Linked DNA regions of Homo sapiens: all the other regions are linked to region 1. Evidence: promoter capture Hi-C in 16 types of primary human blood cells and fetal thymus (Javierre and others, 2016). All regions are on one chromosome and are shown on one strand. The core of a region is centred on a gene start or on the middle of the fragment in contact, and the rest is flanking DNA. Distances in the headings are between cores, read along the strand shown.

Region 1 (2,700 bases), core at 33-2,532:
CTGGGAACTGCGGATATAGCTTGCCACAGTATCTTATCAGTTAATTGCATTCTTGGATGTGCTGGGAGTCAGCTTGCACAAATTAAGTCCTTGAGGAAGCGGGGTGGGTAAGGGGCTGCAAATGAAAGAGCCAAGATGGAGTCTGTCTGGCTCTCTTAGCTAAGGGAGAGTCAATTCAGGTTAAAACAAGGTAGGGTATCACAAGCCCACTTAACAAGGGCAGCAGGACCCCAAGAAGAAAAGCTTTAGGAGTCTCCACAGTGGGCCCAGGGCAGTTCCACACAGGTCTCTGAGGCCCCACAGACAGGAGAGCTGTGACGACTCCCTTAGTGCCCAAGAAAGCAAGGAGGTGGTGGGCAAGGGGCTCCCAGAGGCCTTGGGGCACTAGAGGGGAGATGGAGCCGAGGGAGTGGCTCTGCAGGCCCCTCTCTGAGAGAGTGCATGAGGTGTGGCCCCAGGCCCAAGGGTAGGGGGTGCACAGGGTGAGGGAAGGGAGGAGAGGAAGAGGAGGAGGAGGTGGTGGCCACAGCGGGATGGCACTCAGCCAGGTTCAGCTTCGTGGGAAAGGTCCCAGGTGGGCCGGGCTAGCACTGGGGATGCCCTGGCTCTGTGTCTCGGTTGGGTGGCTGACTCCTCCTGGAACGCATCCCTGACATCCTCCAGGCTGGCTTGGGGATACTCTGGGGACACACAGTGCCCAGGCTTCCGGCCTCCCAGCCCTGGCTCCCTGTGGACTCAGCTGCCCCCAACAAGCCTGCGAGCCACTGGAGAGCAAGGGCAGGCTGTCCTTGCCATCCAGATGCCTGGCACAGAAGGGGTTCTCACCTTCGGGGTATGGGCTGACTCAGTGGGTTTCTCCTCCCTCCAGCTCTAACCTGCCTGTGGAATAAACAAATCACTCCTCTGGGTTGTCTAGCTGGTGCAGGCCCCAGGGCGACGCCCCTTTGAGGGGAAAATGGGGGCATTCCAGTTTCCATGAGCCCTGGGACTCCCCTCCTTCCCACCACTGCTGCCTACCCTCCGGTTCCAGGTATGCAGGCTTCCTCCCTTCTGACGGTTCCTGCTGCTGGAGTCGTCCTTCCTGAAACCCTGCCTTTGCTTAGCCTCATTCCCATCTCTCAGTCCCATCCTGCAGCTGGGCAGGCAGTGCTGGGCCCCGGAAATGCCCTCTGCCTCCCTGGAGCACGTGGCCTGTGATTTTCCTTGAGCACAGCACTTTGTGACTTTGATGTAAACATCAAACACAGCCCCCTTTCCTGTCTTCGCATCCAGGAAATAGGTTAGTTTCAGACAAGCCTGCTTGCCGGAGCTCAGCAGACACCAGGCCTTCCGGGCAGGCCTGGCCCACCGTGGGCCTCAGAGCTGCTGCTGGGGCATTCAGGTAAGCGGCTGTCCTCGGGCCTTCTGCCTGTGTCCTGCCACCAGGGCCACCCCAGGGGGCTCTGGGAGACCTGGCAGAGGATGAACCCCCCCCATCCATGAGTGAGAAACCCTGGCGGGGTGTGACATCCTCCCCCGGGGTGTGTGCGGAGAGTGTGAGCGGCAGGGCCTCCCTCTCAGGCTGGGGGCTTGGGCTGCAGGGAAATCCAAACCGGCTTTGTAAGCCCCGATTCCTCACCCAGAACCGGCTCTCCATTGGCATTGGGACCAGAGACCCCGCAAGTGGCCTGTTTGCCTGGACATCCACCTGTACGTCCCCAGGTAAGTGGTGCCTGGGTGGAGTGGCACCTGGCCACCGTCTCCATGGTGGGCTGTGTCTGGAGGAGGAAGACAGAATATTAACTGGGAGTCAGGAGGTTGCTGGGAGGACCAGGAGAGCTGGAGGACTGGGCTGGGTGGTGACTGGCTGGAGATGGAGGCAGACGGGGCTTGTGGCCACGCTGAGGGAAGCAGCTCCCCCTCCAGAGGCTTGGCCGAGCGGGGCTGTTCAGGGGACACGGTGAGGCCTGCTCAGTCCCTGGGCTCCTGCTGGGCCCTGTTTGGCTGCATCCTTGGCTCTCGGAGGCAGAGAAACCTCCAGAGAAAGCGCATGTGCACTCTGTGAAGATGAGGGGGCTGCTCACCAGGGCCGTGAGCTCCATCAGCAGAATGCTGTGATTCCTGTGAGGAGTCCAGGGCAGGCTTGAGCCACTTGTAGGCGAGCTCAGGTTAGAGGAAGACCTGGAGAGAGAAAGAGCAAAACACCGAGTTCTCCTCAACTGCTGTGTGTTCTCGGCAAGTTGCTTGGCCTCTCTGACCTCAGTTTGTGCATCTGTTAAATGCACATGCAGATATGGGCACCTGGCAGGCGCCTGGTTCCTGACTGTTGGCGAGAGGCTGGGAAATGTGTCCCAGGTAGGAAGCATCCCCGACAGGAAGGAACAGGAGTTCATGAGGTGAGCAGCTCGAGATGATTCATTACTCTCGTCTTGGTTGGAACAGTAGGCAGACAGGAGGTGTTTAATAATGCCTTGCTGAGAGATCAGGGTCAGGGACTCCTAAGGTGCCACCTGTGAAGCTGCCTCCTGCTGAATCCAGAGCTTCCTTTTCCTCTTCACACCTGCCCTCCATCCTCAGCCCCACTGCCCTGGCAGTGTTGCGGGGGTGGTGTTGATGTGCACACTCTGGAGCCTGGGGGCCTGGCTTCACATTCTGGCTCTGCCACTCACCAGCTGTGTGACTGGACCAGTCACCGCATCTCTCTGTGCTTCCCTCCCAGGG
Region 2 (2,700 bases), core at 201-2,700, 630 kb after region 1:
TATTTCTCATTAACTTTTTGCCAATTTTTGTGGAGACACATCACCCTGAGGCTTCGCATCTTACTGAGCGAGTTCTGGTAAGCCACGTCTCCTCTTCCTGTACTTGGGGGGCTGACTTTTTGGACGCTGATACAGAACTTTACATGTGTTCCTGTTATGTCTTTTCTTGGCCTGTATATTTAGTGCATCATTGAAGGCTCTCAAGATTTTTTTGGATTTTGATTTATACTCCTTAGTCACCATATATTCTGAGTGCATGTTAGCTATACATTCTATAACTCCGTATCCATATTAAAATATGCAGGAAACTCCATATGTTCACCCAAGGCCGTGATAATGATGTCAAACTGAGCAGTACTGAGTCCCAGAGCATATCACACCTATTAGCGAGCACTTTGATGCCGTTCACATCACAATCCACAAAAACAGCCTTGCATCCAGCACACTGATTGCCAGCTTAGCAATTAGAAAAGGTGATTGTCCTTCTTTTGTGGGTGGAAAATGAAGGCTTTAGGCTTAGAGAAAAGCTCAAGTGATTTCGCTGGGCCAGGACTAGGCTCAGTTGTAACCGGGGCCAAGCTTGCCCTCAGTATTTAAAGTCTCACCTGTGCCCTTTCCCCCTGATCTTACCCACCTCCTGCTATGGCGCCCATCCCATGCCACGCTCACTGGCCTGCAGGATCCTCAAATGTGCTCCTCAATTTTTCCTACCAAAACTTTGTATTTGATTCTTTATCCACACTCTATCTCATGGAGTTATTGGCATTTTAAAAGGGATCCAAGTTTGAAAATAGAGAGATGACGTTCCAATGGTAGGACTTCAGGCATTGATGGTCAGACAGTAGAAATTTGGAGAGTGGAAAGCTGGCACTGGGGTCTTAAGGGCAGCCCCTATAGCGACTGTTTGCAAAGCTGACCTGAAAGAGACAGGGAGTCCCCAGGGGACAAGATAGATTAGATCCTATGGTCCCACAGTCCTCCTCAAGCTCTTAATGGTATTTGGTTAGAATTTCTAACTCTTCAAATCTTGTTCATTCATTTAATTTAACTTTCCTTCTATTCTTCCAACTGCCAGGTAGGTGAGAGAAATAGATGCCATCATCTTGATTGCCTGAGAAGGAAACAGGCAAAGTGGGCTTTAAAGACAGAAAATAACTGCTTTTCCCCAACTTGGGGCCTCCCCATCCTGCAATTTTGCACTGACTGACAGAATTCCTGCGGGGAAAACTGAGGCATCTTGCTTCTCATGTAAACCTTGCCTGTCTCCTCATAAATATTTTATTTCCCAAAAGCCATTCCTACAAATTGCCTTATCATTTGCCAAGGATCTAGACCATCTGCCAAAGCAAGTTCACACATCCCTCCTTGCTGATAACTGGGTTTATCTGTTTGCATTTCTGTGTATCGTCGGTTAGTCTGGCTTATCTACTTATGAGATTGTGTGTTCTTTAACACACTGGACACCATATGGCCCCCAGCAGAGACAGCAGTCCTGTTGCCTACCTATGGGCACTATTTGTGTGCCTTTCAACCCTGACTATAAAATATCAGGTCCCTAGTACATCTAAAATTTGTTTGGACTGGGAAGATTTTACAAAATTAGAATCAAAAATTTAGTTCTTCCCGCCCCTATTTTTAAAGCAATGTGTACAATATGCATACAGAATAAATAAATAACAAATTATTTACACAGTGAAACTAAATGAACTATAGCTACAAGCAACATCACCAAATCTTACTAACCTAATATTCATTGACAAAAGCAAATCCCAGGAGACTACATAGACTATCACATTGTTTCTAAATTTCAAAAACACAACTAAACATCATTGAGGAGTCCCCCGAGCCACACATGTACACACTTACGCTCAGACTCAATACATCTGGGCTTGGCTGGTATTTTCCTTTCATTTCCTGGCACCGAATTCACAGGTGGATAGAACTGGTCTCATCAGGCTCCCTGGCTCCAGACTTCCTCAGCTCCTGGGTGCTACTCTTTTCCCCACAGACCCCTCCCCACTTCCTTAGTGTCCTGGCTGAGGCTGAAGCAACTTAGCATTCACCTGGCCCCCACCCCCTTCCTCCCACTCTCACCTGCTCTGTCAGAAAGAGGAGATGGTGCTTTCTCCATAGCTCTCTTCTTCCTGTGGTCTCCCTATTCTAACAAACACCAAAAGACTTTGGGTTTCTGAGAATCGCGCTCCTTGGTCTCTTAGTGCCATGGGCCTGTTAGAGCATCCCACTAATTTATTCAGAGGTTGCTGTATCCTGCATCTTCACAAAATCTTGCTGTCCCTTCCACACTCGACCATGCCTCAGTTGAAGCTTGAGCAATAATTGGAAAGGTCCCCAGAGGCCACTCCATTGAGTGAGCATTGGGCCAAATCTGGACCCTCCATCATGGCAGCCTAGGATCTTGCAGCTCGATGACTTTTGCAGGCAAATTCACAGATACATCCCCTTCAGTCTCTTTCCATTCATTTCCAGTCTCTTCATCTGTTTCCACTTTTCAGACACCCAAAGTTCTTCAATGATAACTATTGCCACATACATCATTCCCTAGGGGCCAACTATGTGCCCATTTCTGTGCTAAACACTCTATCTCATTTCATCAGACTCAGGACACTTCTCCATTTCTTGATTAATTCTGTGAGGTCTTGTTTTCCCCTTCAAATCTTAGGAATGATGTGCATTTCAGAA
Region 3 (2,700 bases), core at 63-2,562, 650 kb after region 1:
GCTGGGGTTGCTGAAATTCCAGCGGGGAGGCCCTGCCTGGTGAGGAGGGATGGGTCTGGGTTTAGCCTAAAGAGGCAGTCTGGCCACGATCTGCCACAGCCGCTATGGTGCACTGTGGGGAATTCCTCCTGGGCCCAAACTGCCCAGTCTCCACGACTCCAGCAGGGGAAAATGGCAGACTGGAACTCCAGTGATGGCGGCCACCCCTTTCCCCAGGAGCTCGGTAGTCTTAGGCAGTCTCCAGTGTAGAGGCCGCCAAGAATCTGCACAGCTCTGTGCTTGAGACCCAAGGCCCTGGTGGTGTGGGCTCACGAGGGAATCGCCTGATCTGTGGATAGCACAGATCCATGGAAAAAGCGTGGTTTCCTGGGTAGGGTAGCACAATCACTCACCGCCTCTTTTGGCTGAGAATGAGAGGTCCCCTTGCCCTGTGCCGCTCCCAGGTGGGCAGGCGCTCCACCCTGCTTGTCCTCACTCTCCTTGGGACTGCCTAGTCAGTCCCACTGAGAGAACCTGGACACCTCAGTTGCTGGTGCAGGATTCACTCACCATTTTCATTCTCCTTGGTGAGAACCTCTGACATCAGCTGTTTTTTTTCTTTTTTTTCTTTTTTTTTTTTTTTTATTGAGACAGAGTCTCACTGTGTCCCCCAGGCTGGAGGGCAGGAGTGCAGTGGCGCGATCTCGGCTCACCGCAAGCTCCGCCTCCCGGGTTCACACCATTCTCCTGCCTCAGCCTCCCGAGTAGCTGGGACTACAGGCACCCACCACCACGCCCGGCTAATTTTTTGTGTTTTTAGTAGAGACAGAGTTTCACCATGTTAGCCAGGATGGTCTCAATCTCCTAACCTTGTGATCCAGCCGCTTCGGCCTCCCAAAGTGCGGGGATTACGGGCGTGAGCTACCCCGCCCGGCTGACCTCAGCTGTTTCTAGTCAGCCATCTTGGTCCCTCCCCGGATTTATTACTTTTAATGAGTACAATTTCTTATGTTGGTCCTAAAGTTTTGCAGGCATCTCAAACTGGAATCATTCTCTTTCTCTAACGTGCTTCCCCCCTAGTTCCCTGTCTCAATGGGCAGGCAACACCCCCCATCACCCCAGCTGTTGGGGCACTGTGTTCAGCACCTCTTCCTCCCCACCCCTTATACCTAAATTGCCATGTCCTGGCAACTCTACCCACTTGCTATCACTACCACAAAGCTAGTTCAGGCAGTTGTTCTCTCTCCCCTAAGAAACTGTGGCAATTTTTTAGCTGCTCACCTCACAGGGAACTCATGTTCCCTGAATACATCCTCCCTGGTCTAGCCAGAGTGGCCTGTACACACCTGACCACATTCCTACTGGGCTTTAGGGTAAGGCCCAAGCTCCTGGGCACAACCTGCAAAGCCTGTTGTAGCACCTGCCCCACTGCACTGTCAGATCCTTGAGAACAGGCTTCGTTTTATTTCTCTTTATAGCTCCTATGATCAGCCAGAAACTCACTCATTGTTACATAAGTGAATAAAGTGTTTAAAAATCAAAACAATGTTTGATCTATTGAGAAAACCAGAATATTTAAACTCATAGACTTAAACTATCAAACATCAGAGACAAGTCAGGACCCTGCTGAGCCGATGGCTGCCCTTTTGTAACTGGCAGAGGGTTGGCCAAATGTGCATGGCCACACCAATGGCTCCTGTCTCTGACCTTCCTTTGGATTTGGAATTAACTGAGTCCTGGAGTGAGTCCCTGGGCTATTTCTAGAAATTGCCATCTTTCTCCGGAGTGGTCTCCACTGACATCTGACACACTTAAACGATGTGGCTGCTCAAGAGAGCCTGTGCTAATCTATTTTAGAGAAACCATCCTCAGAAATGCATCTTCCAGTGAAAGACTTATCCAAAAATCATGGAACTGGCCAATCACACCAGCCCTGCTCTCACATAGGCTTTCTTTTCAATCACAGGGGCACCTTCCAATGTTTGCCAAAGAGAAAATGTTCATGACCTGATTTCTGGCACAAGTGTAACTGCCCAAGGGGTTCACCTTCCCCACTGCCTAGACAGAGCCAACTTATCAAGACAGGGGAATTGCAACAGAGAAAAAGTAATTCACACAGAGCTGGCTGTGCAGGAGACCAGAGTTTTATTATTACTCAAATCACTCTTCCCAAAACTCAGGGATCAGGGTTTTTAAGGATAATTTGTTGGGTAGGGGGCCAGTGAATCGGAAGTGCTGATTGGCTGGCTTAGGGATGAAATCACAGGGAGTTGACTCTGTTCTCTTATGCTGAGTCAGTTACTGGGTGGAGGCCACAGAACTGGTTGGTAGGTCAAGGTGTGGCCATCCGGTTGTTAGAAATGTGAAAACCTGAAAAGACATCTCAAAAGGCCGATCTTAGGCTCACAATAGTGACGTTGCCTTTAACAGTAACTGGGGAAGTTGCGAATCTTACGACCTCTGGAATAATGGCTGATAATATTTAGAATTCCAGCCCCTCTCATTCTAACTTGGTGGCTGTTGGGCTTTTAGTTGTTTTACAAAAACAGTTTAGCTTTGGGAAAGGGCTTTAATTTAAATTATAAATTAAATTCCTTCCCAAGGCTAGTTCGGCCTACGCCCAGGAATGAATAAGGACAATTTAGAGGTTAGAAGCAAGATGGAATTGGTTAGGTCTTATGTCGTTCACTGACATAATTTTCTTAGTTACAATTTTTCAAG
Region 4 (2,700 bases), core at 73-2,572, 550 kb after region 1:
TCCATATAAATTTTAGGATCTTTTTGTACTTATACAAAAAATACCATTGGGATTTTGATAGGGATTGCATAGAATTGTACATCACTTTAGGTAGTATGGACATTTTAACAATTAAGTCTTTCAATCCATGAACACAAAATGTCTTTTTTATTTATTTGTGTCTTCTTTAATTTCTTTCAGCAATGTTTTGTAGTTTTCAGTGTACAAGTCTCTCACTTCCTTAAAATTATTCCTAATTTGTTCTTTTTGGTGCTATTGTAGATGGGATTATTCTCTTAATTCCTTACCTGATTGTTCATTGTTAGTGTATAGAAATGCAACTTATTTTGTGTATTGATTTTATATCCTTTAAGTTTGCTGAATTTATTAGTTCTAACAGTATTTGTGGAATCTTTAGGGTTTTCTACATGGAAAATCATGTCCTCTACAAACAGATAATTTTACTTCTTTTCTAATTTGGATATTGCTCCTTTCTTTTTCTTGCCTAATTTCTCTAAGACTTCCAGTACTATGTTGAATAAAGGGAGAAGAGTGGACATTGTTGCCTTATTCCTAATCTTAGAGGGAAAGCTTCCAATCTTTCATTATTAAGTACAATAGTAGCTGTAGGCTTCCTTATGTTGATATAGTTTCTTAGTATTCCTAGTTTGCTGAGTGTTTTTATCATGAAAGGATGTTGACTTTTGTCAAATGATTTTTCTGCATCACTTGAGATAATCATGTGGGTTTTGTCCTTCATTTTGTTAATGTGGTATATTACATTAATTTTCATATGTTGAACCATCCTTGCATTCCAGGAATGAAGCCCATTTTTTTCATGGTGATTATCTTTTTAACATGCTGTTTAATTCAGTTTGCTACTGTTTTGTTGAGGATTTTTGCATCACTGTTCACCAGGGACATTGGTCTGTAGTTTCTTTTTCCTTGTAGTATCTCTGTCTGGTTATGATATCAGCGTAATTTCTGTCTCATAAAATGAGTTAGGAGCATTTCTCCCTTTTCAATCTTTTGAAAGAGGTTTGAAGAGAATTGTTATTAATTATTTCATTGTTTGGCAGAATTCTCCAGTTAAGCCATGTGGTACTGGGCTTTTATTTGTTAGGAGGTTTTTGATTATTGATTTGATCTCCTTACTAGTTATAGATCTATTCAGTTTTTTAATTTATTCATGATTCAGTCTTAGTAGGCGGTATGTTTCTAGGAATTTATCCATTTCTTCTTGGTTATGCAATTTGTCGGTGTAATATTGCTCTTAGTAGTCTCATAATCCTTTTAATTTCTGTGTCATCAGTTGTAATGTTTCCCCTTTTGTTTCTGATTTTAGTTATTTGAGTCTTCTCTCTTTTTTCTTGGCTAGTCTAGCTAAGAATTTGTCAATTTTGTAGGTCTTTTCAAAAAAAAACAAATCTTGCTTTCATTGATTTTTTTTCTATTGTTTTTCTATACTCTATTTCTAATCTTTATTATTTTCTTCCCTCTGCTAACTTGGGCTTTCATTTGTTCTTTTCCTAGTTCCTTGAAAAGTAAAGTTAAATTGTTAATTTGGGACCTTCCTCCTTTTAAAATGTGTTTACCACTATAAACTTCCTTCTCAGTACTGCTTTCACTGCATCTCATACATTTCGATATGTTGTATTTTTCCTTCATTTATCTCAAGATATCTTCTAATTTCCCTTGTGATTTATTCTTTGACACATTGGTTGTTTAAGAATATGTGACTTAATTTTTATATTTTTGTGGATTTTCCAGTTTTCCTTTTGTTATTATTTCTAGGTTCATTTCATTTTGTTCAGAAAAAATACTTTGCTTTCAACTTTCTTTTTTTAAATATTTGTTTTGTGGCCTAACATTCAGTCTATTCTGGAGAATATTCCATGTGTACTTGAGAAGAATGTGTATTCTGCTGTTGTTTGGTGGAGGGTTCTCCACATGTTGGTTAGGCCCAGTTGATTGGTGGTGTTCAAGTCCTTTGTTTCATTATTGATATTCTGTGTAGTTGTTCTGTCCATTATTGAAAGCAGAGCATGAAGTCTCCTGCTAATACTGGGTTGCTGTCTATTTCTTCAGTTCTGTCAAAGCTTGTTTTATGTATCTGAGAGCTCTGATGCTAGGTGCACATATAATTGTTATATCCTCTTAGTGGATTTGGGTAGTATGGACATTTTAACAATTAAGTCTTTCAATCCATGAACACAAAATGTCTTTTTTATTAAGTCATAAGTTGATATAACAACTTATGACTTAAAATCTATTTTTTTATTTTTTATTTTTATTATTATACTTTAAGTTTTAGGGTACACGTGCACATTGTACAGGTTAGTTACATATGTATACATGTGCCATGCTGGTGCGCTGCACCCACTAACTCATCATCTAGCATTAGGTGTATCTCCCAATGCTATCCCTCCCGCCTCCCCCCACCCCACAACAGTCCCCAGAGTGCGATGTTCCCCTTCCTGTGTCCATGTGTTCTCATTGTTCAATTCCCACCTGTGAGTGAGAATATGCGGTGTTTGGTTTTTTGTTCTTGCGATAGTTTACTGAGAATGATGATTTCCAATTTCATCCATGTCCCTACAAAGGACATGAACTCATCCTTTTTTATGGCTGCATAGTATTCCATGGTGTATATGTGCCACATTTTCTTAATCCAGTCTATCATTGATGGACATTTGGGTTGGTTCCAAGTCTTTGCTATTG
Region 5 (2,700 bases), core at 83-2,582, 600 kb after region 1:
TTTGTCACCCAATATTAGGACTGAAATTCAGACTCGGTAACTTGTCTGAGATCTGCAAGACTGAACATCCCCTACTGTATAGTTTCCTGACATTTTCATTTAGCCTTTCCTAATTATTTTTGTCTATAGTCTGTTGTAGGTAACTCTAATTGAGCCCGAAACCAGAATAAAAACTCTTACATTGGAAACATTTCAAAACCATTGGATTGTTGGATTATTTGTTACCATTTTTCTCTGAACACATTTTAGCAATGACATATGAAAGTATTCAGTTGTGTTTACTAACTTCAAAAATGAAATCGCTCCATCAAATTTCGTTTTTCTAGTCGGTAAGATCCCTGAGGCTAGATGAAAATAGAGCACAGGTCATCACTAGGGAAAATATTGGATGCTTTTTGCAAACAGAACAGATAGGGCTGAGTTCTGATACTCTAAAAATTTACAATCTAATTAAAAGTGGCATTCACATTCCTGAAAGCTAGGAGTAGCCAGGGTTATGGTGAAGAAATTAAAGAACTAATCCACTTCTAAAAATATGAAAAAAAAAAAATAAGGGACATGCGCTCAGCATCAGGCTAAAAACAATAATGCAGTGAGGAAGGAACTGAAGAGTGAGGGAATTGTTTGAAACAAGGCAAGGAACAGTGCTTGTGGGAGGCAGAGTACCTCCCAGAACTCAGACGTTTCCTCCCAGCAGGAAGGCTCTGGAGCAGTCTCCGCTAATGAGAGTTGTGTCCTGGAAGGAAGGAAGGGTATGAGGGTCTGAAGGAAGCAAGGTGTCTGGTCTGGAGAACTAGTGGAGCAGTTTAGAAACCACCCAGTCATAGGCATTGGTTCATTTATTCATACGTGCATGCATGTGAGCCTGCGTACATTCATTCAATTATTCAACAAGCAATTTGAGTGCTGACAGCCTGCCAGGCTCCAGAGAGATGCCAGCAGACTTGGAAGGTGGTTATCTTCCCTCTGTACCCATCTCGCTCTCTTCGTCTCCACTTTCTCATTGGAACAATCACTGGTGTCTGGTGGTGGGGTATGAGCAGAGACAAATGACTACAGGGCAAATATATACAATGCTAGTTGCATTGGTGTTACATTGCAGTGCACAAGGCCATCATTTGATGTGTTCAATGATAGTGCCTACTTCAGTGTAATGGAGGAAGTTGCAATTACAACGGTGAACTTCCACCTCCAACCAATACAGAATGGCAGCAACTAGAATTACACTCCCACCAAAACAACTAACACACCTGCTAAAATATATGTAACAACAGTTTCCAAAACACTGGGCGTCAGGTGATAAGGACAGTGCTCTTTGAGAGATAAATGTGATGAGCCCTGTGCATTTCCCAGTCGCTTCCTGGAGATATTTCCAGGCTGCAGCATAGGGAGGGGGAACCCAAACACAGCCCGGCAGCCTCTGTGAGCTGAGGAGATGGAAATGGAATTCTGAGGACACCAAGGTAGCTGGAGTTTACCAGGGTCAGGGCTGGTGAGCAGAGAGCTACAGAGAGAAAGCTCGCTGGAGACCTGCGGAGTGGCCCTCTTCAGTCTTCAGCTAATAAGTGCATGGCTGTGAGGAAATTACTGAAGACCAGAGAAAGGACCACTCAAAGTGATTACAAGGAACAATTCCTATGGTTTACACAGGGCTGGGAATATTTCCTGTTTCCTTCAACCAAAGTGGAAAATATTATTCATGGGGCATCGGATAAAGTATTCAGGAGTTTGTCTCAATAGTGGAGCAAAACTGGCATTTGACTAAATGTTTCCGTGGTCCCAGCCTAACAAAGCTGAAAAGCAAGCCTGGGAAGGATCAAACCTGTTTCCAAATACCTGTGTCCCAGAACAAAGATCAAGGATATTTATAGGGATACAAAAATATCCATCATCCAACAAGGTACAATTTACAATGTCTGACATCCAATCAAAGACTGGCCTAAAGACAGGCATGAAAAACAGCAAGAAAATAACCCATAATAAAGAGAAAAGCTGGCCGGACTTGGTGGCTCACGCCTGTTATCCCAGCACTTTGGGAGGCCGAGGTGGGTGGATCACCTGAGCTCAGGAGTTCAAGACCAGCCTGGCCAACATGGTGAAACCCTGTCTCTACTAAAAATACAAAAATTAGCTGGGTGTGGTGGCTTGCACCTGTAATCCCAGTTACTTGGGAGGAGAGGCTGAGGCAAAAGAATCGCTTGAACCCAGGAGGTTACTCCGGAGCAAGAGTCCATCTCAAAAAAAAAAAAAGAAAAAAAAGAGAAGCCAATTGGAATCAGCTCCGGAATGACACAGACAATGAAAAGTACCAGAAATGGCAACTGATGGTATATATATGAAAGACTTTCTTTTCTTACCATTTAAATCTCCTTTAAAGATAATTGGCTTTATAGAGTAATGTCGATAGTACATTAATGCATTTTCATAAATCCTTGAACATGCACCTGGATGCATTCATTGCCTCAGATGATTTGCACATTTGATTTTTTTGCTGAATAAATCTGTACTTTTAGCATATACCAGAAGTAATAAAAGGGGTTCAATCTGTTAAACACACTCACAGACACACACAATAATAATAGTGATGATAATAATAATACCTATGTATCTAGATTTTATGGCCACCCTATATAATAGGCCAGGATCACAAGCCAGGGGCAGTGGGTGATTGCTATAGGGATGGAGTGATTGAAAACCAGA

Evidence for each region. Contacts are between HindIII fragments. The CHiCAGO score rates a contact against its expected background, and 5 or more counts as called.
Region 2: a fragment that was not itself captured here is called in contact with the fragment with the promoter of ZAP70 in region 1 in 5 of 17 cell types (M0 macrophages, M1 macrophages, erythroblasts and 2 more); the score reaches 7.6 in M0 macrophages.
Region 3: a fragment that was not itself captured here is called in contact with the fragment with the promoter of ZAP70 in region 1 in 2 of 17 cell types (M1 macrophages and M0 macrophages); the score reaches 7.0 in M1 macrophages.
Region 4: a fragment that was not itself captured here is called in contact with the fragment with the promoter of ZAP70 in region 1 in 2 of 17 cell types (endothelial precursors and megakaryocytes); the score reaches 7.7 in endothelial precursors.
Region 5: a fragment that was not itself captured here is called in contact with the fragment with the promoter of ZAP70 in region 1 in 2 of 17 cell types (M1 macrophages and M2 macrophages); the score reaches 6.5 in M1 macrophages.

What each region holds. Positions count from the first base shown.
Region 1 is chr2:97,712,294-97,714,993 of GRCh38, forward strand. ZAP70 (zeta chain of T cell receptor associated protein kinase 70) reads left to right here and starts at 1,283. Exons shown (of 14, transcript NM_001079.4): 1 at 1,283-1,381; 2 at 1,623-1,701. RefSeq lists an enhancer at 1,091-2,064. The HindIII fragment of the contact is 8,251 bases long and covers 242-2,700 here.
Region 2 is chr2:98,342,150-98,344,849 of GRCh38, forward strand. No RefSeq gene overlaps it. Among named protein-coding and RNA genes, the nearest start is that of CNGA3, 3.0 kb to the right of the region's middle. The HindIII fragment of the contact is 1,746 bases long and covers 578-2,323 here.
Region 3 is chr2:98,366,579-98,369,278 of GRCh38, forward strand. The region is part of intron 1 of CNGA3 (cyclic nucleotide gated channel subunit alpha 3); the gene reads left to right. Among named protein-coding and RNA genes, the nearest start is that of CNGA3, 21 kb to the left of the region's middle. The HindIII fragment of the contact is 8,735 bases long and covers 1-2,700 here.
Region 4 is chr2:98,262,782-98,265,481 of GRCh38, forward strand. The region is part of intron 21 of VWA3B (von Willebrand factor A domain containing 3B); the gene reads left to right. Among named protein-coding and RNA genes, the nearest start is that of CNGA3, 82 kb to the right of the region's middle. The HindIII fragment of the contact is 1,508 bases long and covers 569-2,076 here.
Region 5 is chr2:98,312,747-98,315,446 of GRCh38, forward strand. It overlaps VWA3B (von Willebrand factor A domain containing 3B), which reads left to right. Exons shown (of 28, transcript NM_144992.5): 28 at 1-553. Among named protein-coding and RNA genes, the nearest start is that of CNGA3, 32 kb to the right of the region's middle. The HindIII fragment of the contact is 5,618 bases long and covers 1-2,700 here.